7 separate regions of the Homo sapiens genome follow, and all the other regions are linked to region 7. Evidence: promoter capture Hi-C in 16 types of primary human blood cells and fetal thymus (Javierre and others, 2016). All regions are on one chromosome and are shown on one strand. Each heading gives the region's core, a stretch centred on a gene start or on the middle of the fragment in contact. The rest is flanking DNA. Distances are from core to core; before and after follow the strand shown. Region 1 has its middle 53 kb from the start of GUCY1B1. Region 2 overlaps GUCY1A1 (guanylate cyclase 1 soluble subunit alpha 1). Region 3 has its middle 190 kb from the start of RBM46. Region 4 overlaps GUCY1B1 (guanylate cyclase 1 soluble subunit beta 1). Region 5 overlaps LOC105377506 (a long non-coding RNA gene). Region 6 overlaps GUCY1B1 (guanylate cyclase 1 soluble subunit beta 1). Region 7 holds the start of MAP9 (microtubule associated protein 9).

The links. The method cuts DNA at HindIII sites, captures the fragments that hold promoters and counts their contacts. A CHiCAGO score of 5 or more calls a contact.
Region 1: a fragment that was not itself captured here is called in contact with the fragment with the promoter of MAP9 in region 7 in 1 of 17 cell types (fetal thymus); the score reaches 7.0 in fetal thymus.
Region 2: a contact is called between a fragment that was not itself captured here and the fragment with the promoter of MAP9 in region 7, in 1 of 17 cell types (fetal thymus). The highest score is 7.7, in fetal thymus.
Region 3: a contact is called between a fragment that was not itself captured here and the fragment with the promoter of MAP9 in region 7, in 1 of 17 cell types (endothelial precursors). The highest score is 6.6, in endothelial precursors.
Region 4: a fragment that was not itself captured here is called in contact with the fragment with the promoter of MAP9 in region 7 in 2 of 17 cell types (fetal thymus and total B cells); the score reaches 12.6 in fetal thymus.
Region 5: a contact is called between a fragment that was not itself captured here and the fragment with the promoter of MAP9 in region 7, in 2 of 17 cell types (total B cells and fetal thymus). The highest score is 6.4, in total B cells.
Region 6: a fragment that was not itself captured here is called in contact with the fragment with the promoter of MAP9 in region 7 in 3 of 17 cell types (fetal thymus, M1 macrophages and M0 macrophages); the score reaches 10.5 in fetal thymus.

The regions. Positions count from the first base shown.
Region 1 is chr4:155,810,683-155,813,767 of GRCh38, reverse strand. No RefSeq gene overlaps it. Among named protein-coding and RNA genes, the nearest start is that of GUCY1B1, 53 kb to the right of the region's middle. The HindIII fragment of the contact is 6,377 bases long and covers 1-3,085 here.
Region 2 is chr4:155,672,155-155,675,189 of GRCh38, reverse strand. All of the region lies in intron 2 of GUCY1A1 (guanylate cyclase 1 soluble subunit alpha 1), which reads right to left. Among named protein-coding and RNA genes, the nearest start is that of GUCY1A1, 6.8 kb to the right of the region's middle. The HindIII fragment of the contact is 1,407 bases long and covers 621-2,027 here.
Region 3 is chr4:154,974,666-154,977,715 of GRCh38, reverse strand. No RefSeq gene overlaps it. Among named protein-coding and RNA genes, the nearest start is that of RBM46, 190 kb to the right of the region's middle. The HindIII fragment of the contact is 763 bases long and covers 1,144-1,906 here.
Region 4 is chr4:155,766,318-155,769,675 of GRCh38, reverse strand. All of the region lies in intron 2 of GUCY1B1 (guanylate cyclase 1 soluble subunit beta 1), which reads right to left. Among named protein-coding and RNA genes, the nearest start is that of GUCY1B1, 9.0 kb to the right of the region's middle. The HindIII fragment of the contact is 6,244 bases long and covers 1-3,358 here.
Region 5 is chr4:155,745,266-155,748,445 of GRCh38, reverse strand. LOC105377506 (a long non-coding RNA gene) reads left to right here. Exons shown (of 8, transcript XR_007058484.1): 4 at 2,714-2,843. Among named protein-coding and RNA genes, the nearest start is that of GUCY1B1, 12 kb to the left of the region's middle. The HindIII fragment of the contact is 3,568 bases long and covers 1-3,157 here.
Region 6 is chr4:155,793,138-155,796,593 of GRCh38, reverse strand. It overlaps GUCY1B1 (guanylate cyclase 1 soluble subunit beta 1), which reads right to left. Exons shown (of 14, transcript NM_000857.5): 6 at 2,508-2,738; 7 at 1,137-1,253; 8 at 84-217. Among named protein-coding and RNA genes, the nearest start is that of GUCY1B1, 36 kb to the right of the region's middle. The HindIII fragment of the contact is 2,117 bases long and covers 473-2,589 here.
Region 7 is chr4:155,375,498-155,378,553 of GRCh38, reverse strand. It overlaps MAP9 (microtubule associated protein 9), which reads left to right and starts at 1,589. Exons shown (of 14, transcript NM_001039580.2): 1 at 1,589-1,783; 2 at 2,640-2,778. The coding sequence starts at 2,704. RefSeq lists an enhancer at 1,707-2,136. The HindIII fragment of the contact is 1,286 bases long and covers 813-2,098 here.

The sequences.
Region 1 (3,085 bases), core at 253-2,752, 440 kb before region 7:
TGATTTTAAAGTGTAAAAATACACACTGATTTTAGTGTATAAATACACACTGATTTTAAAGTGTATAAATACACACTGATTTTAAAATGTATAAATACGCACTGATTTTAGTGTATAAATACACACTGATTTTAAAGTGTAGAAATACGCACTGATTTTAGTGTATAAATACGCACTGATTTTAAAGTGTATAAATACGCACTGATTTTAAAGTGTATAAATACACACTGATTTTAAAATACACACTGATTTTAAATATTTAATTAATGATTTTAAATGTATTACATGTTGAAATGATCATATTTTGCTTATACTGAGTTAAATAAAACATATTATTAAAGTCAATTTCACTGGTTTCTACCTTTTGAAGTGTGGCTACTAGAAATTTTTAAATTTAAAAATCCATGTCATATGTGACTTATATTTGGGCCTCACATTGTATTACTATTAAACCATGCTGTTAGACATTACCCTTGCAGTGTTCTTTTTTTTTTTTTGAGATGGAGTTTCGCTCTGTCGCCCAAGCTGGAGTGCAGTAGCGCTATCCCAGCTCACTGCAATCTCCTCCTCCTGGGTTCAAGCCATTATCCTGCCTCAGCCTCCTGAGTAGCTTGGATTACAGGCACGTGACACCACGCTCAGCTAATTTTTGTATTTTTAGTAGAGACGGGGTTTCAACATGTTGGTCAGGCTGGTATCAAACTCTTGATCTCGTGATCCGCCCACCTCGGCCTCCCAAAGTGCTGGGATTACAGGCATGAGCCACCGCGCCTGGAAGTTTTCTAAACAGACTTAAAAACACTGTGCTTTAGAGGAAAAAATAGTTATACTAACACATTAAGAAATTGCAACCTCCCATTATTCAATATCCTGTCCAATACTTGCGATTGAGGATATACAATTATTAAACAGGTGCCAAAATCACCACTGCACACACAAACTAGCACTGTGCAAAAGGCTTCCAACACCAGACACACTTAACTTCATAATGCTTCCTGCCTGTAATGCTTCTTCTGGCTACTGGCTTCTTTGGACAGACCACTAGGGTTTTTTGTCAGATCAATTTGAAATCTACATATTTCCTGAGACTTGTATTTTCTTCAGGCCCTGCCCTCACCTTGTCTTGGATTCCAGGACACAAACTTCTCAGGGGACTCCCCTGACCCCCCCTCTTCAGAGCCCCAGTTGCCCGGGAGCAGAGGACTCAGTCGCTGATTTCACCCATGCCTGCCTTAGACTGTAATGATTTTTACACAAAAATAAACAAAATATCTTTGATTACGTTATTTGTACTAGTACATCTAAAACTGTATGTAGTCACAGTGTCAGATTTAGGTACTGTTGTTGTCCAGAACAATATGATGGTATTATATTCATGGGTATATAAAAATTATTAATATATTGACATTTATTCATGTGATGCAGAAAACCACAAAAGGGACAGTATTTACAACAGTTTAAAAGTGTTTTCTAAGTTAATACTTTAATTTTATGTGACTCCTTTCCCCCTAATGATCTAAAACTGTTTGGTAGGCAACTGTGGTCACTACTTTACATAATTGGGAAATATATTTCATAAGAATAACATTTTAAAAACCCCAACCTATATGTAATACTCACTGATATTTTTTACCTGTAATTTTTTTTGAGACAGATTCTTGCTCTGACGCCCAGGCTGGAGTGCAGTAGTGATCTCAGCCCACTGCAACCTCCGCCTCCCAGGCTCAAGTGATTGTGCTGCCTCAGCCTCCCGAGTATCTGGGATTACAGGTGCCCATCACAACATCCGGCTAATTTTTGTATTTTCTGTAGAGACATTTTCACCATGTTGACTAGGCTGGTCTCAAACTCCCGACCTCAAGTGATTCACCTGCCTTGGCCTCCCAAAGTGCTGGTTTACAGGCGTGAGCCACCATGACTGGCCCCTATATTTAAGCCCTATTTGGGATAGACTGTACCACAGCAATTGTGTGAGTACATATAATTGAAATAGAGACATACATTCTCTCCTTGTTTTCAGGTCATCAAGAATGTGACTGTTTATTAAACACTTAAATTTAGCTAACATAATTAAATATTATAGGGCACATTTTTAGTAGACATACATAACATTAATACTCATATACACTAATCAGGACCTTAGTCATTTTGATTTTAGCTTGGAGTCAAAAGTCCTCACCAAGTGTTTACCTCAGATTTGTTTATTTCTTGGAAGTTAGCTTTCAGTCTTTCGGTTGATCTATTCAACACTACTAGATTGTCAAAACTTTAGATTGTATTCCCAAAAGTTTCAGGCCAAAATCCTAGCACAAGAGTTACTGGAAAAGGGTACTGATCCAGACCACAAGAGAGAGTTCTTGGATCTCATCCAAGAAAGAATCTGAGGTGAATCCACAGAGTACAGTGAAAACAACTTTATTAGGAAAGTAAAGGAGTAAAAGAATGGCTACCCCATAGAGCAGTGGCATGGCTGCTGGACTGAGTAAACTTATGATTATTTCTTGATTAAATGCTAAACGAGGGGTGGAATATTCATGAGTTTTCCAGGAAAGGAGTGGAGAATTCCCAGGACTGAGAGTTACTCCCCCTTTCAGACCAGATAGAGTAACTTCTGATGTTGCCATGGCATCTGTAAACTGCCATGGCGCTAGTAGGAGCATCTTTTAAACTGCTAATTTATTATAATTGGGATATAATGAGCAGTGAAGATGACCAGAGGTGGCTTTCACTGCCATCTTGGTTTTGGTGGGTTTCGGCCTGCTTCTTTACTGCATGGTGTTTTATCAGCTGAGTATTTGCTTAACTACTGTTCTACAATAATCTGTATTATTATCTTTAAAGCAAAACGTATTCTTAAATTAAGAATACATTTATTCCTAAGATATTGGGACACCTGGACATTTCCTGGGTCTGTTAAGTCCTGGGTCTGTTTGGTAAACATTATTAACCTATTCCCTTAACTGTAGACATTCTGTGACTAAGAATGCCCAACGTCCTGGGAACGCAGCCCAGCAGGTCTCAGCCTCATTTTACCCAGCCTCTGTAAAGATGGAGTCACTTTGGTTAGAATGCTTCTGATACAAAA
Region 2 (3,035 bases), core at 75-2,574, 300 kb before region 7:
CATATTTGAAGCTGCAAAGTGATATTGCAAATGGAGAAAAATAAGCAGCTAAAAATTCCAGTGCATATACTGTCACGTGCCAAATAACAATGTTTCTGTCAGCTATGGACCACATACACAATCATGTTCCCATATGTTTATAATGGGGCTGAAAAATTCCCATTCCTTAGTGACTGATAGCCATTGTAATGTCATAGCACAATGCATAACTGAAATGCTCGTGGAGATGTTCGTGCAGGCAAACCTACTGTGCTGCCAGTCATATAAAAAGCATAGTACATACAATTACCTACGGTATATAAAACTCGATAGTGATAATAAAGTACTATTTTATTGGTTTATGTATTTACTATATTATGCCTTTTATTGTTATTTTAGAGGGTACTAGTTTTACTTATAAAAATAAGTTAACCGTAAAACAGCCTCAGGCAGTTTCATCAGAAGGTATTCCAGAAGAAGGCATTGTATTCATAGGCGAGGACTGTTCCATGCTTGTTATTGTCCCTAAAGATCTTCCAGTGAGAAATGTGGCAGTGGAAGACAGTGAAACTGAAGATCCTGACCTTGTGTAGGTCCATGCTAAGGTGTGTGTTTTTGTCTTTATTTTTAATAAAAAAGCTTAAGATGTAAAAAGAAATAAATTTTAAAAATAGAAAAAATCTGTTAGAATAAGCATATAAAGAACGAAGATGCTGGACTTGTAATCTAACCCTTCTTTATTTTAAACATTTTTTTTTTACAAGTACTCTCCACATAACTTCACTGTTCCAAGTAGGCTCATGATAGCACATGTTTTCTTTGTTTCTTTGTTTCTTTCTTTCTTTCTTTTTTTTTTTTAGATGGAGTCTCGCTCTGTCGCCCAGGCTGGAGTGCAGTGGCGCAATCTTGGCTCACTGCAAACTCCACCTCCTGGGTTCAAGCAATTCTCTGCGTCAGCCTCCCGAATAGCTGGGATTACAGGCACCCACCACCATGCCCGGCTAATTTTTTGTATTTTTAGTAGAGACGGAGTTTCACTGTCTTGGCCAGGCTGGTCTTGAACTCCTGACCTTGTGATCTACCCGCCTCGGCCTCCCAAAGTGCTGGGATTACAGGCGTGAGCCACCACGCCCGGCCATAGCACACGTTTTCACTGAGTGCTTATGAGCCATTGAGCACTTGTATTAGATGACTGTGTATAAAATGGGGAACTAAACAGAAATGGTACCTCTCTCCACAAGTATCAGTATAATAGTAAAAATTCAGCAAGTAATTATTCATATCATAATAATTCTACAAAGGAAGCACAATGTGTTACAGGAAAACATAATAAGGCATGCAATTTAGGCTTGGAAGTTCAGGGAAAGGTTTTAAGAAGCAGAGCTTAGTTTGAGATCTACAAGATGTGTAGGTGTGGGCCCCACAAAGATTGAACAAGGGGAAACGAAAAGCTAGAAATGGAAAAGTGGTGTTCTCCACAAATAAATACTTCAAAGCTATGGCCTGGGAAGGCTCAGCATTACCCGTTCCGCCACACACAGGGTACACACACACACATCAAACACACACATGCACACCCACACACACATCTGATCCCTGCAGTGAATCCTTTCCTTTCCTCTGTCTAGAATACTCTTCCTACTGTTTGCCACATTTAAATCCTACAGGTCCTGTGATGTCCAACATCCTGATCTTGTTTTAAAACCTCAGCTAAGTCTTAGATTTCCTCTGGAAAGCCTTACTCAATATTTCCATCATACCGAACTCTCTTCCTTCTCCTAACTTCTTTAAAACTTATTAAAACTATTCTACAAATATTATGCTCATTGTTAAGTGCTGACATGTATAATTCTGAGACTATTTCTTGGTTTTGTTCATGCAGACTTTAAATTCCTTCAAGTCAAGGAGTGTGTGTCATAAACTTTGCTTTGTATCTTCCTCAGTGACAAGCATAATCCATAATAAACTTTATTGAGAGAAGTACAAAATAGTGGCTGAGTCTCTAAGAAGAGTGTTATAAAATATAAGACATAAAATAAGTTGAAGCTTATAAAAAAAAGAAAAAATGTCCTTTTAATTCTTGCTATGATTGCCAGATAAAGTGGTGATAATGGCATTTTTATTAGATATAGGAAGAGCACACTGGATAAAGATATTCAAATCACAGTACATGAACAAACAGGCAGAACTACTCTGCTCTTGTTTTGTTTCATATCCATTCCTTAAGAAAACAATATCCATACTTATAAAAGTAGAACAAAACTAAAAATAACAAAGGTCCAGCATGTAGAATGATAGCAAATATTCTAAATGAGTTTAAATCCATTAATTTGGAGAAATTACACTACAAAATATTGAAAGCATGTGTGGATAAAATAAAGGAATTGTTAAAGTCATCTTTAAAAATATTGTGATGAAGAGAAGTGTTGACAGAGTCCAACCATTGCCTCAATTTTCAAAATTGGGAAGGTGGATTCCATCAGCTATAATTTAGAGAGCTGGACATTAATTGCAGGTACTATTCCAAAGAGATGATTAAAAACATGGCATGCAAGCATTCAAAATGTGAAGTGCTGTTATCTACAAGATAAGGAGAGGTCACAGGAACCTATCCTTGTCAACTAACCTAGTTATCTCCTTTTGTTTTTAATAGCAGTTACTTGACATCTATTCTGCAGAAAGTGGAGACTCATTTCAGGGAGGAATTTGACCAAGTCTGTCTCAGTATACTCTCTTAAGTCACACAAAGGAATGTCAACTTCAAAGAGAGTTATTTGACTATATAACTGGTTGAACAGCCTTATAAAGAGGAATAATTTATGGACTAATGTAAAGCAGGAGTCTAACGTAAAGGACGGTGTCTAGGAATATGCCAAAGGTAGTTCCAGTTCAGCATTGTAGATAGTTACTTGGATGAAGATGTTAATTATATCCTGATCAAATCTGTTAATTCCTCTAAATTGGTGAAAATGGCTATTCTGTATCAAGGACTCAGAATCCAAGATGACCTTGACTTTCTGGAACAACAGGCTAACTAAAGGTAATGATTAAATTTA
Region 3 (3,050 bases), core at 276-2,775, 400 kb after region 7:
GTGTAGCACAGGAGAAATCATCTAGGTCTGGGAATTTTTAAGAGAAACTTTTTCTATTTCACTGCCCAAAACTTAAAGAACGTCAGTGGGACTCCAGCCTCCTACGGGGCTTTACATGATCCTGCCTTTCTATCAAAGATGAGCCGGCTGCCTCTAACGCCCATGCCCGGGAGTTGAATGAATTGATCCAGATTGTGAAGGCATTCAGTATTTCTCACTAAAGACACTCACGTCCACTAAAGACAAGTTTCTATTTTAGTACACTGAGATAAATAGTGCTGACATTTGGCTGTCATCCCTGGAAATAATTAGCCAGCGGGTTTGATTGATACAGCAACTCTGAGTTTCAGAGAGTGATACTATATTCCTAGCATAAAATAGGACACCTGGCTGAACTACTGTATCCAATTTTTGTCTGGAAAAGAATGCATTGCAGGTGTCTCATAGGATGGAGTTAGCTAGGCTGGGGAAATATTACAGGTAGAGGGAACCAAAGAAAGAAAGGGAGAATAATGTGTTCAGGTAATTAGAAGTGGTTCTGCATGAAGTGGAAGTAGGAAGGGATGTTGGGAGAGAAGACCTGGAGAGGTCTGCAAGTGCAAGATCATCAAGAATTTGACATGCTAGGTAGGAATTTGAGCTTTATCCTGAACATGATGGTAAATCCATGAACAGCTTAAATGGGGCAGGTATGGATATAATCAAATGTGCATTTTTAAACAATTCAGGACCGGGTGTGGTGGCTCACACTTGTAATCCCAGCACTTTGGGAGGATGAGGTGGGCAGATCGCTTGAGGTCAGGGGTTCGAGACCAGTTTGGCCAACATGGTGAAACTCCATCTCTACTAAAAATACAAAAATGAGCAGGGGATGGTGGTGCATGCCTGTAATCCCAGCTACTCGGGAGGCTGAGGCAAGAATATCGCTTGAACTTGGGAGGCAGAAGCTGCAGTGAGTGGAGATCACACCACTGCACTCCAGCCTGGGCGACAGAGCGAAACTATGTCTCAAAAAATAAAAATTAAAAAAAAAATCAGGTACAGTGGAAAAATGGCCTTTCTATTTACTAGAGTCACAATATAAGTTTTGAAAATATTAATAGGAATTTATTAAAGATTATACAGTTTGGTATTTAGGAAGCTTCTACCTTGAAATCAGTAGCACATAACATACTGACGAGCATTCTTATTGACAAAACAGAACACAGCTCTGTCCAGTAATAAAATAATTCCTCACAAATCCAGTTCTTTTCATTTGAAACTTACATGGAAAGGCCAAAATATGTAATTTTTCTGTGAAAAATCTCAAAGGAAAAGATTAATAAATTTAATTTCCCAAAATTTAAACATGAAAATTTAAACATAAACACAATATATGTTACAGACTGCATGTTTGGGTTCCCCCTACCAACAAAAAGAAGTTATATGTCAAAACCCTAACCCATAAGGTGATGCCGTTAGGAGGTGGGGCCTTTGGGAATTAATTAGGTCATGAAGGTGGAGCCTCAGGATGGAATTAGGGCCCTTGTAAGACGAGACATCAGAGCATCTCTCTCTCTCTCTCTCTGTTTCTCTTTCTCCCTCTCCCTACCCCACCCTAATTCTCTCTCTCTTTCTTCTCTCCTCCATATGAGACTACAGCAAGAAGAAGGTCATCTGCAAACCAGGAATCAGACCCTCACCAGACACCTGATTTACTGGCTCTTTATCCTTGGACTTCAAGCCTCCAGATCTCTGAGAAATATGTTTATTGTTTAAGCCACTCTGTCTATGCTAATATACTATAGCAGCCTGAACTAAGACAGTATCAGAAACCATACATACATTTTAAGGCAAACAAGTTGAGACCAAACAGTTGCAACATACATAAGATACAAGAGTTGCTATTCTTAGTATATAAGAAGCTTTAATACCTAAATATATCTATAAACCTACCAGTACAGAAAAGATCAAAGAGCATTAATTCAAAAAGAAATACACAAGGCTAATGCTGATGAAAAGATTTAATCTCATTAGTAATGATCAAATTCAGATCATCATGAGATATTTTTTACCTATCAACTTGGCAAATTTTGAAAATAACAGTATAGTGAGATTGACACAGGAAACTGTCAAAAACTCCTGACGGCATTATGAACTGCTCGTAATAATACCAGTATTATTGCTATTGGTATTATTTCCTGATAGGAAAGGAGTTCGGTAAAATGTATCAAGTTTCAAAACAGGTTCATTTCCTTTCATGTAGTTATCTCTTTTTCTATGAATCCAAAGAGAAAAATCAGAGAAATGGCTAAAGGATAATTACAAAAGTGTCAATAAACCTCTTGATTGCAAGTAATAAACCCAACTTTTAGTTATTCTTGAGTAAATAAATCAGCAATTACAGCACATGCATACACACAATTTTTTCCAGCCAATTAATAATTCACCATGCTCGGAGTCCGAATTGAAATTGGTACAAAGATCCTACCAATGGTGTGATAACAGTTTGGAAGGGGTGTTATGAGGCCAAAATGAAGAAAAACAGTTGATTCTAATATAAGGAGAGATAGGAAGATCACGGCACAAGACAGCTGGCTCCTGAGGAAGGATAATTAAAGAGGCTGGGCAACAGCAAGGCCAAGATGGTTCAGCATGTAGTTTTCTAACTTCTATTAACCATGTTAGTAGGATGAATGGGCGAAGAAACAGGATATATGGAAGTGTTATTCTGTTACCTCTTAAGATTACAGGAGATTTTATTTCCTTCCATAAAATTTTACTTTTCAAATTTCTATACTGAGCATGTATACTTACTGTTCATTCACTCAATCAATGCTTAATTAATCCTTACTCAGTACAAGACACTGTTCTAGGTGCTAGTGATGAGTCATGGAATGAAACAGACTCCTTCCCTCGAAGAGCTTGTCTTCTCCACACACAGATAGACAAGAAGCAATAAGTGTAATAAATTCATCACATATATTAGGAAATTATAGTAATGGGAAGGAAAAATAAAGCTAAGTAAGAGTAACCAGAAGTTCCAGGAAGGAGAGCACATTCAGAGTAGT
Region 4 (3,358 bases), core at 566-3,065, 390 kb before region 7:
TAAACTGTGTTCAAGAGTGCTCATCTATCAAATAATAACCAACAGCACTACAATCTTCATGCCTCCTAGTTTGTATTACAGTCTGTTGCTGCTTACTACTATTATTTTTATTTTTAAAAGTCCTACCAAATCCCAAGTGAACATAGTCTTTCACTATTTTCAAATACTATGACTTGCCATATTTACATACCCAATGACTCTGCTTGGCTTAAGCGTTAAATTTTTCTATTCAGTGAATTACTCAATGAAAGAGGTCAGCAGACAATAATAAATATTTAGAGAGGTTCAAGTTTAAAAGCACTTTCATTGGCTAACAAGTAAACCTAGATAAAGAGAAACTCCCTTGATTTCATCTATGTCATAAGTCAAAGTCTTTCCTCACACAGTATGGAAAATAAACAACTAAGCCAATCCCATGTGCAGTTTGGGCAGATTCAACTCTTGGTGTTTCATTTCCTCATCTGTAAAACAGGCTAACAGCAGCAGTTACCTCCGGTCATTGTGTTGGTTAGCAGAATTAACCTATGCAAAAATCTCAGGGTAGTACTTCTTGCACACTTAATGCCTGATACTTCCTCTAACTGGTAAGTTATAGTAGTTGGAGAAGATGAAGGAAGAAGGGAAAAAGGAGAAAGAGGAAATGGCAAGTGGAAGAAGAGAAGGGAAGAATGACAACAAAATCTTAGTCATTTTTAGTCAGAATCAAATAATTAAGGTGCACTTAGTATGCAGATTTGCTGATAGAATTTACAAACTAAAATAGCCAAGAAACAAACAAGCTCTGTTGCCCCTAAGGGCTTTAAAAATAAAGATCGAATTCTCACCTGGCAACAAAATCAGAAATAATCACATTCTTTGTATCTGTAGCCACAGTAACTGTTTAGAAGTTGAATACGTATAAGTGAAATAGTTTCCCAGTAGCAATCAACTTCCTACTTACTCTTATTTGTTGGAATTTAAGCAGATCCTTTATTTATACTAATTACCTTTTCACAAAGAGGTAGTTGGTATTTTTATAGTGGTGGTGTTTGGTAAGTTGGGATTTTTTTCTTTAATGTAATTACTGGTGCCTAACCCAGGTGCCTGGAATTGCACATGTGCTTAATAAAGGTGCACATGTGCTTAATAAAGGTATACATGTTTAAAAATTAGTGAATGAATTAATGAAATCAATTTCCCCACACATTTCCAAGCTCCCTACAAAAAAAAAAAAAAAAAACAAACAAGTAATCAAACATTACTAACAAAAGTCCATCATTTGCTTTCAAACTAAAGAATATTTTTTATTATTTATTTTTTAAAACTAGGTATACAATTTGTCCAAAATATCCAGGTAACATTTCTTATAACTTCACATACAAGGAGATATTCCTTAACTACAATATGTGAACACAGAAAAACTGAATTCATATTCTGACCCTGAGCTCCTGCTACTGTACATTTTTAGAGTAAGTTAAGAATATGACAAGACTGCTATATTTCAGTTAAAGAAGTTTTCCATGGAGTATTTTGAAATGGGAGAGCCTGAACACAGGCATGTTGAAAACATAATCTCAACACAAGGTCTGCTCTTGGGCAGAAAAGGTCAATCAGGATCAAACAATCAAACTGACCAATGACAGCTCCAAGATACTATTGATCCCATAAACAACATTATCAGAACACATGCTGTATTAAAAAACAGTACGTAGGTGTCGTTTTGATAATAAATCCTAGAATGGTCCATTGTAGTGAGCTGAATTGGTACCATAATGTTGCATTGTCCCCAACCATTATTAAAACTAAAATCTCCCACTATAAACTGTGGATAGTAACTATATATAACATCTAAAAAAGTAAAACTTTATATTGCTTTTTTCTAAGTGGCTGTGGAGCATGAATAGCCTCTAAGTTTTCAATGGCCTAATCTAATGATTCTCAGTAAGCCTGAACCCCAAAGGAGAGACTCTGGCTTGAGGGAGCTGCCAAGTGGAGAGACAGGCCCTTTAAATCCAGTAACGACTTCCTGCCTGAACCCCCTTTTAGTTAGTAAAGGTCAGTCCTTTCATGTCAATGTGTTCACTCACTCATCCAATCACTGTAAACAGTAACAATAAATACTCTCCTGAGTGACACCCATACCTTAGTTTTAGGGGAAACAACAACAGTCTTGATACATAATTGCATGTTTCTTCCTGACATGCAATTGTCAGGAAGAGACCCTTAATGGTAATTTCTCCAATTTTGAGTCACAAGAGACCCTTAATGGTAATTTCTCCAATTTTGAAAACATATCCACAAAACTTACAAATCTTCATTTGAGCTGCTGAGCCATTTTCAGCAGCTTTAACAGACAAATGAATTTACTTAGACACTTGTGTATATGCTTCATGTCAATTCGCCTTTAAAAATATTGTTGTCAAAAATCACCTGTACGCATGCTTGAACATTCCAAGAAAAAAGAAAAAGCAGCAGGCAGTACTAATACACATAAACATGGCACATGTCCTTGCTAAATTGGTTGTCTTTGGAAAGAAGAAGGTTATAGGTCTTTCTCTTTGGAGGAAAACACATAACATGATAATTACAACTTTATCTGTGTTCAAATCCCAGCTCTAATAATTAATAGCTGAGTGTTTGAGGCAGGCTTTCTTTTACGCCTCTATTCTCTCATTTGCAAAATGAGGATAATGAAGGAATCTATTTTCTGTGGTGGTGATGAGGATTAACTGAGATAATGAGTATAAAGCATCTAGGACTGTGACTGCAGAACCATATGGTATGTGTTTAATATACGTGACATATTACATTCGAAATAGCATGACATGGTGAGAGCTCAGCTGGATTTCAAATTTAATTTCAGTATTCTAAACACTGAGTTACAGTCTATGACACTGACTTTAAACAGCACCACACATCCCTGCCTTTTAGAAACTTGCTAAAGGATTCAATCATGTCCTGAATCCAATCTAGTAATTGTCTTTTGACATATGAAATTGTCATTCTAACAATAGAGTTCTTAGTCCTTCCAATACATCCACATGACATGAGAAAACATAAAAGAACTCTGACACTTCCAAAAGGAATTGCTATTATGTATTGCTATATTGCTCTATCTTCTGCCTTTGCTGATATAAGAAATGTTTATTTGGCACAGCAATGTCACTATTAACAATTACAATGAACAATTACAGTTAACAATACTATAATGAATACTTGAAATTTGTTAAGAGGGGAGGTCTTAAGTGTTCTCACTACAAAAAAAGAGGGTGCCTATGTGAGGTGATGAATATGGCAATTGGCTTGATTACAGTGATTATTTCACAATGTATATGTACATCAAAACATGAAGTTGTGCACCTTAAATATATATAACTTT
Region 5 (3,180 bases), core at 124-2,623, 370 kb before region 7:
CTGATCTCAAAGTTGAAAAGTAAATGGCACCCAATGTGCAGGGAACTCCCTGAGATTCCTAAGCAGGAATCAAATATAAGGAAATTACACACAGATTATTTCCAGCTGTGACAGTAATGAGCTTCTTTTAGCAACTGCATGGCCAAACTCCTGCTCTTAGTGCAAAACTCCTGCTCTTAGTGCAAAACTCCTCCTGGGAAGAAGCTACCATTGGTATGGAAATGGAGGGTGGGAGGTAACCAGATTGCAAGAACTGATAGTCCAGAACTCGGTTTATTCTCCCTTAAACTAAAGATGGGAGATAGGCGGGAACTCTGAAGTCTCTTCTCATCCCACACTGCAGCCAAAGAGAAGTGGCACCCTCTATCCACATTTTTTTTTTTTTACCTGTCAGTAAGAGATATTTCCCTGCCGCCTTTGCCAGGTGATAAAAGTCCTCTTTATTTTGGTATGTCCTTTTGTGGGCGGGGGGGGGGGGGGGGGGTTGCTCTACCTCTCCCACCTGGAACCACTCAGGTTTATAATAGGTAGAGCATGTATTGCTCTCAACTCAGGTGTATTTCATCTTTACCTGTAGCTAAAGGATTCTAGCTCTGATTCACCAGGCTCAGTAATTGATGGACACAATCCATGGAGCACTATCAGGGTTTTCTTGATTTGGGAGCACGAAGAGGGGACTTCAGACTCTCCCCATGCAGGCTCAGATGGCTTGCCACATTGATTCTTCCTTTACTGTCACTTAAACTCAGGATTACATTGCTCCCAGGCTTCAAGATGGGCCTAGTCTAGACAAAAACTTTCAGTCTCATGATTATGTGAAACTCTCAAATAATGTGTACCATGAAGTGTAGAACATTGCCTGACACTGAGTTAGCTCTCAGTAAATTACTTGTAGCAGGAATTGTACTGATAATGCAAATCATTCCAATCTTCTTTTAGCTTTTCTTGCAGTGAGGTTGGCTGTGTCACTTGTTCAAGGAAAGAGAATGTGAACAGAAGGAATACGTGTGTCCTCCAGGACTGAACTTAAAAATTTGCCACACATACTCCCCAAGATTCCTTCTCCAACTGCCCAGTAGATATATATACTCAAGGTGACATTGAAGATGAGAGTGATCTGTTGGTCCAGGTCATGAGTGGCTGGTGGAGCTTCAGCCCTCATCACCCTCATCCTTAGATAATATGTGAGAAAGGAACTGCTCCTGTGAGTCACTCAAATTTTGAGTTTGTTTATTGAAAGATTAGGCTACTTTCAAAGACACAGTACCAGCTCAGGACCTTGCAGGCTGAAGATTGCTTACTGTGATGATAACTCTGCTTCCATGAACATCCGTCTTAGGGCAAGAAGCTGAGTAAATTATTTATCCCACACTCTATCCATCCAAACAGGTGAGGGGCTGTGCCTTGCCCTTGTGTGAAGAAACCAGGTTCTATTCAAGAGTGTTACTCTTTCTGTGAACAGGAGGCAAAGGTATGAGCTGAGACTCTACCTGCTCTCAAAATCATCAGAAAGAGGGCTCAGAAGGAGTCACAATTACTGAACTGCTGACTGAAAGACTCTCTGGGGACTCAACCCATGGCTATTAATGTCAGTGTCACTGGGCCAGCTCAGATGCAAACCCACCACTACTGTGTCATCCACAAAATACATACAGCTATCGCATATCAGCATTGTGGGAGAACGGTATTAAAGTGAACTTCACTTTATAGAAACTGTATTCCTGACAGCCACATACAGTTCTTATGACCATGAATCAAATCGCATTTATATGAACAAAGGCAAGTAATTTAATAGAACCCTATTACAGAACATAGGATTCTCTACAGGACAGACTTTACACAGTGAACATTCACACTTAGTTTTATCATTAATTTTCATAGGGCAGGTTTGCTGTACTAACTAGGCATGCAAAGACCATGGGTCTCAGCAGGTAATATAAAGTGATGAGGCAGGTTGGGTGGATTTGAGGTAAAAGTGAGCGTTGGGGAATGCAGTAGATCATGAATATTTACCCCACCCAAATGAGGCAGCTCCCACTCAGGGACAACGGTTCATTGTAGAGACATTGTGGGACAAGTGATGCTGCATACAATGAGTGATCTCGATTTCTTTGTGAAATCATATGATTTAAAAATGTTAGCATGATAACCTGATCCTACTTGGAAGTTAATAAGTTAGCCTGCTGCATTTTGTAATGCTGGCAAAAACCGTAAGATTTCTGGGTCAGTGAGTAAAGAATGTATTACTCACAGCAACAGCAATAGCCAGAGTAGCCAGTTTCTTGAGTCCCAAGTCCACAGGGTGATGAAAAGAGGTCCAAGTAACGCCTGTCCATGCAGTAGGCTACATCACAAGAGAGGAACCCTGAACTTAGGGAACATGAATCTTTTATACTGAACAGTAAGCGTGCCTGCCCCTTGCTCCAGAAAGAAATACTATCTCTATCTTCCAAGACGATTTGCTGTACAAACACCCCAGGAAAGCTAGTGCAGAACAAAGACACTCAGAACCTCTGCTCATAAGACATGCATAAATATGAGAGACCACCTCCCAACAGTATTCTCCCCTAGTTTCTACACCATCTTGTCTTCTGGAGAATTTTCCCTTGGATACATCAGTCCATCAGCACTCTGATTAATCTGATCAGGAGAGCTGGGCCTAAATCTGTTCAATTTGGCTTATATAGCATTTAACTGCAGTTACTATCAACAGGACTTCAAGCAGTAGAATGAGGCCAACCTGCAAAACTGACCTGTCATGCCCTGCCTCACCATCTTATCCAGTCCTGGACTCAACCAGCTGAACTAATCCCTAAACCACCAAGTCTACCTTAGAAAAACAGGTATGTTTTTCCTCAAGTTTCTCTAGCGATCTTTCCACTTAGCCAAAGGCATTATTGCAGATACAGCAGGGTGTATTTGCAATTACACAGACTCCACCTTGGCCTGCAAGGGGAAAGTCTAGGGTGATTTTATTATCATTCATAAGGACCCTGGCCAGCAAGTTGTGTATTAGCTGAATGCCTTTGGCAGACAAGGTGGTATATTTAATCCCTTCAGCTAAAAGGGAAAATTTTTAACTGTGTGATTCCCATCACAGGGATAACAGCTTGCATTTTGTGCATAAATGATTAATTAGTTATTCCTCAAGGAAGCTTCTCTAGAGTTCAAGGATGGCTT
Region 6 (3,456 bases), core at 282-2,781, 420 kb before region 7:
TAATGGAATAAAATATTGTGGCATTCCTTTGTTAGCTAAAGATAGGTACTGATAGCCACTATAATTAATCTAAAAATGATTACCTTGGTGAACATAGAAAAAGTATGCTATCTGCTTCAGGTAAGTAGATCATTTGACCCTTGAGACGTAAGCAGCTGATCTCAGTCCCAGTCAGTTCATCCTCACATTCTAATTTCTCCACATCCAACAATCCTTCCTTGAAAAGGCAAGATACAACCATTAATGAATGCCTTTCTCCCTACCTAAGAATTCAGCAACAAGGACACGCATATCTCATTTCCCACCAAACCACAAAGCAGAATAAGTGCATCATTAGAACAGGAGAGGGCCTTCTGTCAGAGTTCTGCCTGTAATAAGCCTAGTGGCTGCCTTGCAACACTGCAGAAAAGTGACTGTCCCGTCTGAATTCAGGACAGTAACTGTGCTACTCTTCACATAATTATTTCAAGCTTTTGTGAATCTTTTTTATCCCCCTGATTTTCCGGTATGGTTCCAACATACATTACCAGACTCTCAAAGAATAAGCCAAGCCTCCCCATTCTCCCACCCTGTATTCATAGAGCAGCTGCAAACAGTCAGTTCCAAATACAGAAAGGATTCAATGGGTACTCTAGGAAAATGACTTTTGCTGTATCTATCCCAAGAACAGAAACCGTGAGATCCCAGCACTATCTAAATTATCAACTGTGTGAATATTTCATCACTTTTATTCACCCACAAAAACGCTACTAAGAACAATAGACAATTTAAGAAAGAATAAATAAGTGGTTTTGAGTGAAGTTCCAAAAAAAAAAATCCTTTTTAGTTCTGATTTCTAAAATAAGGCACTGTAGCTGTACAGGGAGTAAAAGATGTTGGTTTTTTGATGTGAAACAAGGCCGTCTCAGAAAGACAGTCTCTAAAATTTACCTCTGTTAATTTTAATCAGTTGATAGAGTTCCACTGCTCCTCAGGCAAACCAAAAATCAATGTTATTGCCTTTTAAATAGATCTTCCTTTGAGGTCTGGGTTTTATCTCTCTATACTTTCTCAGAGAATGTGATAATTTTCCCCCCTGAATACTTCTAATTTGTGACATACCTTTCTCACATTTAATGAAATAATATCTTGATTACCTTGCTTCTCAATACAAAAACAGTATTGATGTGAGAAAGGATCCCATGGAAACTAATATCAATATGAGGACGAACCAGCGAGAAGACAGACAGAAGGCTGCAATTCCCAGGCTGGAGCTAAAATATAGATAGAGAGCAAAGAGTATCACATCAGTTAAAATAGTTTTTATACTTTGATATTAATCGCTTGATTAAATCAGCTCAGTTATATTTAAAACTAGAAAATTATAATTATTATAATTCAAGGGAAACTTAGCTGAACTATCAACTCAAATCTCAATCTATACAACTCAGTGATTAAATGGACATTAAATAGTTACAAGAACATGAAATCTGATATGGATTCAGATGACTAATATTCAAATGTAAGCTAGCATAAATTTACAATGCATTTTCAGAAGGAGAAAAAATGAAAATTTATCTTTTAAAATGTACAGTGTTATGTTAAATGTGTATGGCTTGAAATGAAATTAAAATACCAAAAACATGAGCAAACCCTCTCTTAATATTTATCTAGAGGGCTAAAAGTGAAAACAATAGGTAACACTGATTGATTGCTTACAATGAACTAAGTATTTTTCATATGCTTTCTATTCTCATGCCAGAACAAAGAGAAACAGGCTGAGAGAAGTGAAGTAATAAGTTCAAGGTCATACAGTAAGGGACAGGTAGAGTCAATACCAGAGCCAGGACAGCACACTACTCTGCTTCCATTTCACCTGATCCAACTGGGCTAATCCTGAATTTTCAAGTCTCTTTAATTACAAGCAAAAAGTATCTCTAAACGTATGCCATATACAACTCCAAAAGTTAGTATTTAAGAAAAAAAGAGTAAGCATAAAGGATTTTACCAATGGATCTGTCATAGAAGTCAACAGCAGTTTCTCATCATCATCCCAACTGCTTCCTTTGATGCTTTTTCTACTGAATCCATCATCATCTCTATCATTTTGTGTTTTAGTTCTTTTTAAAATCCCCCCTTTTCCCTTAACACCATCAATAGTTGATTTTTAAAGCTATTTACAGATGGTAGATATCCAATGAATATTTATTCAGTGAATAAATAAACATGTGAAAGGTGACTGTTACTAAAAAGTTACCCATTTTTTTTCACTGTAACAAGTATACTATTCTTACATAACATTCCTACTGTTTCTGTATGTGATTATTATAAAAAAATAGTTGTCCTAGGGAAAGTTGTGGTATGCTCAAATACACTTAGTTCACAATTAAACAATTTGTGTAACTTACAATAAACTGCATATTACCTAATACATAGTCAGAGGGTTAAATGAATGGATGGCTGCCTGTAACAATAGTATTTCTATGGGCTTTTGTCTCAGGCCCCAAGGAAGTATGCTGTCATTTTACCTGGGGGAGAACTCTGTATATAGCATTGCCACACTGAGTGACCACTAGGTCCCGGTCAAATATTATATGAAAAGGAAAAGCTTTGCAGAATGTATATGGGCTGATGCGTGATTCCTGGGTACCATTTTCTTCAAATCTGTCAAGATCTTCATAAAAATCCTCTTCTTTTGACTCTTTTTCTTCAATTAAAAATTGAGTATGATCACATTCTTCATTTCTTTGCTGAATAACCTGGATATCAAAGGGGGAAATGGCATGAATTGTCTTCATTTCAGTTTAATAAAAATACCTAAATATAAAAAATGAGTTATGAATACTGCATTTAGAAGATTAATTACAAAAATTCAAAACATATATGCAAATACTCCATATGTCTAAAATAGGAAAATATTTCTGGACTTTGATCTATAAAATTTGAAGATTGAATAATCATTGTAAAATTACAAATCTGGTATCAGTTCCCCAGTATCCTATATGGTCTCTTTGGTAGAATTAGAAAAAAAAAGCACTTGTGGGCTCTGCCTTCTTAGCCAAGCACACTTGTATAGTGAACAACCTGAAAGCCAGCTAAAAGCAAGCTAGCACTATCAAATAAGATTACAATACTATTTTAAAACAATGGGAAATAAAATGATAGAGATTCATATTCAAAAATAAATGCAATGTCATTTTTAACCATCAACTATCAAATACATAAAGTTACAATACCAGGCCAGGTGCAGTGGCTCACGCCTGTAATCCTAGCACTTTGGGAGGGTGGGGCGGACAGGTCACCTGAGGTCAGGAGTTTGAAACCAGCCTGGCCAACATGGCAAAACCCCATCTCTACTAAAAATACAAAAATTAGCCAGGCGCAGTGGTGGGTGCCTATAATCCCAGCTACTCGGGAAGCTGAGGCAGTAGAATTGCTTGAACCTGGGGAGGCAGAGGTTGTAGTGAGACGAGATCA
Region 7 (3,056 bases), core at 340-2,839:
AACATGGCCACACCATACCTTGGTGTGATCTCAGGTATTGGATAGGTTGGCTGTAGATATTCAGTGAATGTGGGAGAAGGGCCTATATATCTATTGATGACAGAAACTGAGAAATAGAACATAGAATATTGGCTTGTGAGGAGGAAGGGTTTGGAGTAATAGGAGAGCAGTCACTGAGTATGTGAGGACCTAGGAGAACTTAGAAATCTTCCTTCTACAGCAGTCCCTATTTGAAAAGCCCTCAGGGAGATAGTTTATTCAGAAAATAGTTTTGCTTAGCTAAGATAAGAATGCGATTATAGAGGAAAAAGTGAGAGAATGTTTTACAGTGGAAAGGAGGTTCCAGGAGCATGAGGTGAACCTGGAAGGGTTCAACAGTAGTGCCATGAGTTAATAGAAAATAGGGAGCATTTTCTATTCTGGGTATGTGTGTGTAGAGGTGGTGTACATTTTCAGCTTCATAAATGGATACAGATGAGTGGACATATATATATAATATATTATATAATATATATTATATATATAATATATTATATAATATATATAATATAATATATATATACTATTAGTTCTGTCCATCTAGAGAACCCTGATTAATACAGCATTGTATTTTACTAAATTTCTTATTTCTTGTTATGCACATTTAGTTTTTCAATACATTGATTTATTAAATTTCTATCTCAATGTGATTTGTTTATACAAAATTGAATTAGTGAAATATTAACATATTTTAGAGATGTGGAAAAAATACCAGGTATGAGTTTAATTACTAGTCAATGAATTCATTCAGATAATTCAACTAGGATTAAGCTTTTTAAAAATTAAAAATAGTAAAAATTCATATTATTTTAAAGACTTTCAATAAACGTTTTTGGTTTTTATTTGCTTTAAGAATTTCCTATGCGAATTAAATGATGTTGATTTTGTTTACTTTAGTAGCACATGCTCTTTTAGCCTAGTGGATCATTTTGTTTGGTTTGATTGGAATAAGATTACTCACTAAGTATACAAAGAGGGGGAGTTTTACATTCAAGTAAGATGTCAAATGGGCTTTCAGTTGTGTCCACAAGAGCTGAGGTCTCTCCAGGCCCTTTGCGGCTTAGTTGCATGAAGAGCATATCTAATATCGAATACAATTCCAGGCACTCTTCCAAGTGTTCCACTTGTATTATTTCATTCAATTTTACAGCAACCTTTCAGGTGTCTATTATTAGTACACTTTTGTTTTCCCCCAGAAGAAGAAACTGAGTCATAAAGACCTTAACTTGGGACAATCACGTGTGTAGGAAAGGGGTACCAGGATTCAAACCTGCAGTCGGAAACAGGGTTCTGCAAACTCACTACCGTACTATTCTGTCCCATCCACTGACACCGTACTTCGATTCAGAGAACTTCACGTCCTAACTGTGGCAAAACGACGAATGTGCTTTATTTGCAACACGTGCAGATAAGGACCCTTACTCTATTGGCAAGAGTAAGGCTATCTGGGTGGGAGTTGGGCGGGTCCTGTCTCCTAGGCAACAGCACATGCACACAAGCGACCAATAATGAGCCCCTCTCCAAAGACCCAGGAAGGTGATGTCACTTCCTTCGTCTGGGTGGTTGCCCCAGCGACACGTTGGGCCGAAGAGCGGTGTTGGGTACCCGAGAGACCCGGCGGTGGGGAAGTCACTTCCTCCCGAAGACGCTGTTTCCTAGCAACCGCCCTCCGCCTCTGTTATTAGCCCCTCCTCCTCGCTCGGTCCAGGACCGGCTCTGCGGGCGCCGCCAGGCCCAGACCAAGGTGAGCAGCTCCTACCCGATGCTTGGCTCTTGATTCTCAGGGTCGCGGAGAACTGGCCGCGGGCGTCCGGGGCCGGGAACAGAAAGCGGGACCTGGGGGCCATGGGGGATCCGGACAGAGACCGCGCTTGGACGTGCACGGGCCTGGCGTTCGCTGGTGCTCAGCATACGGCGCGGTGAGGAGCGGCGAGCACCCGGACGTCACCTGGCCTGGTAGGGAACGGAACCCGGGGCGCACAACGCTATGGGCGGCCCTGCCAGGCCTCTGCTCCGAGTACGGGAAACCGCGATTTTAATGCGGCTCATCGCGAAAGCTTCGTCGTTTTGTCTGGCTCTCTTTAACACTTTTGTGAGAGGAAAAATTGGCTTGCAATACATCTCGCTGGCTGTTTGCGGGTTAGCATTACGATCTTTTTCTTTGAATAGCGCTGTATGCAAATATATAGATACATTTTTTTTTTGGTGGTGGTGCTCATAATTTTTACGCCGACGATCCTTTTGATGGCCTTTTAAATAAGACGTGACTTATTTTGAAGGCAATGTTATACTTTAGAAGAGAGGTGAAAAATAAGGTGTTCTATTTTAATTGGCAGCATTTTGTCGTATTAACTTGTAATCATTTATTTGCAGACTTTTTAAGTAGTTGCAAAACTATTTTAGGATAACTTCCATTTGAATTTTTTTAAACAAGCTTGTTATGAGAATTTGCTATTTCTTTACAAGAACCTTTTTAAGTGAAGATGTAGCCCAATGTTCATATCAGATGCTTTTCTTTGACCTTTGTGGGGAGAGTAGAATCAAATGTAATAAAATAAATTCTGAAGCATGCGAAGTCTGATTTGTTTTGTATATTTCAGCTACTATCAGAAGTTGAATTCTAATAATTAGCTATTTTATAAAGGTAACGAGAAAAAATACACTATGTCTGATGAAGTTTTTAGCACCACTTTGGCATATACAAAGAGTCCAAAAGTTACCAAAAGAACTACTTTCCAGGTAAAGTATTTTTATTTGGAATCATTTCACAGTGTAAACACTGTATTAGATGGGTTGAAATTGGTGATTCTAGAACAGTCCTATATAAAGCAGGGGTAAATCTTATATTACTTTTGAGGTTTTGCACATGATCATGTTTGGGCTCCATCCAGTATTACAAACTCCCCTATATGGTTTTAAGACTACCAAAGTAGCCTCAATACTAGTTTCCTACTAAGTTAAAAGTTGAATCGCAACCTTAAATTGCCATTTTTATATAAAAACTTTTTTTTCTGTTG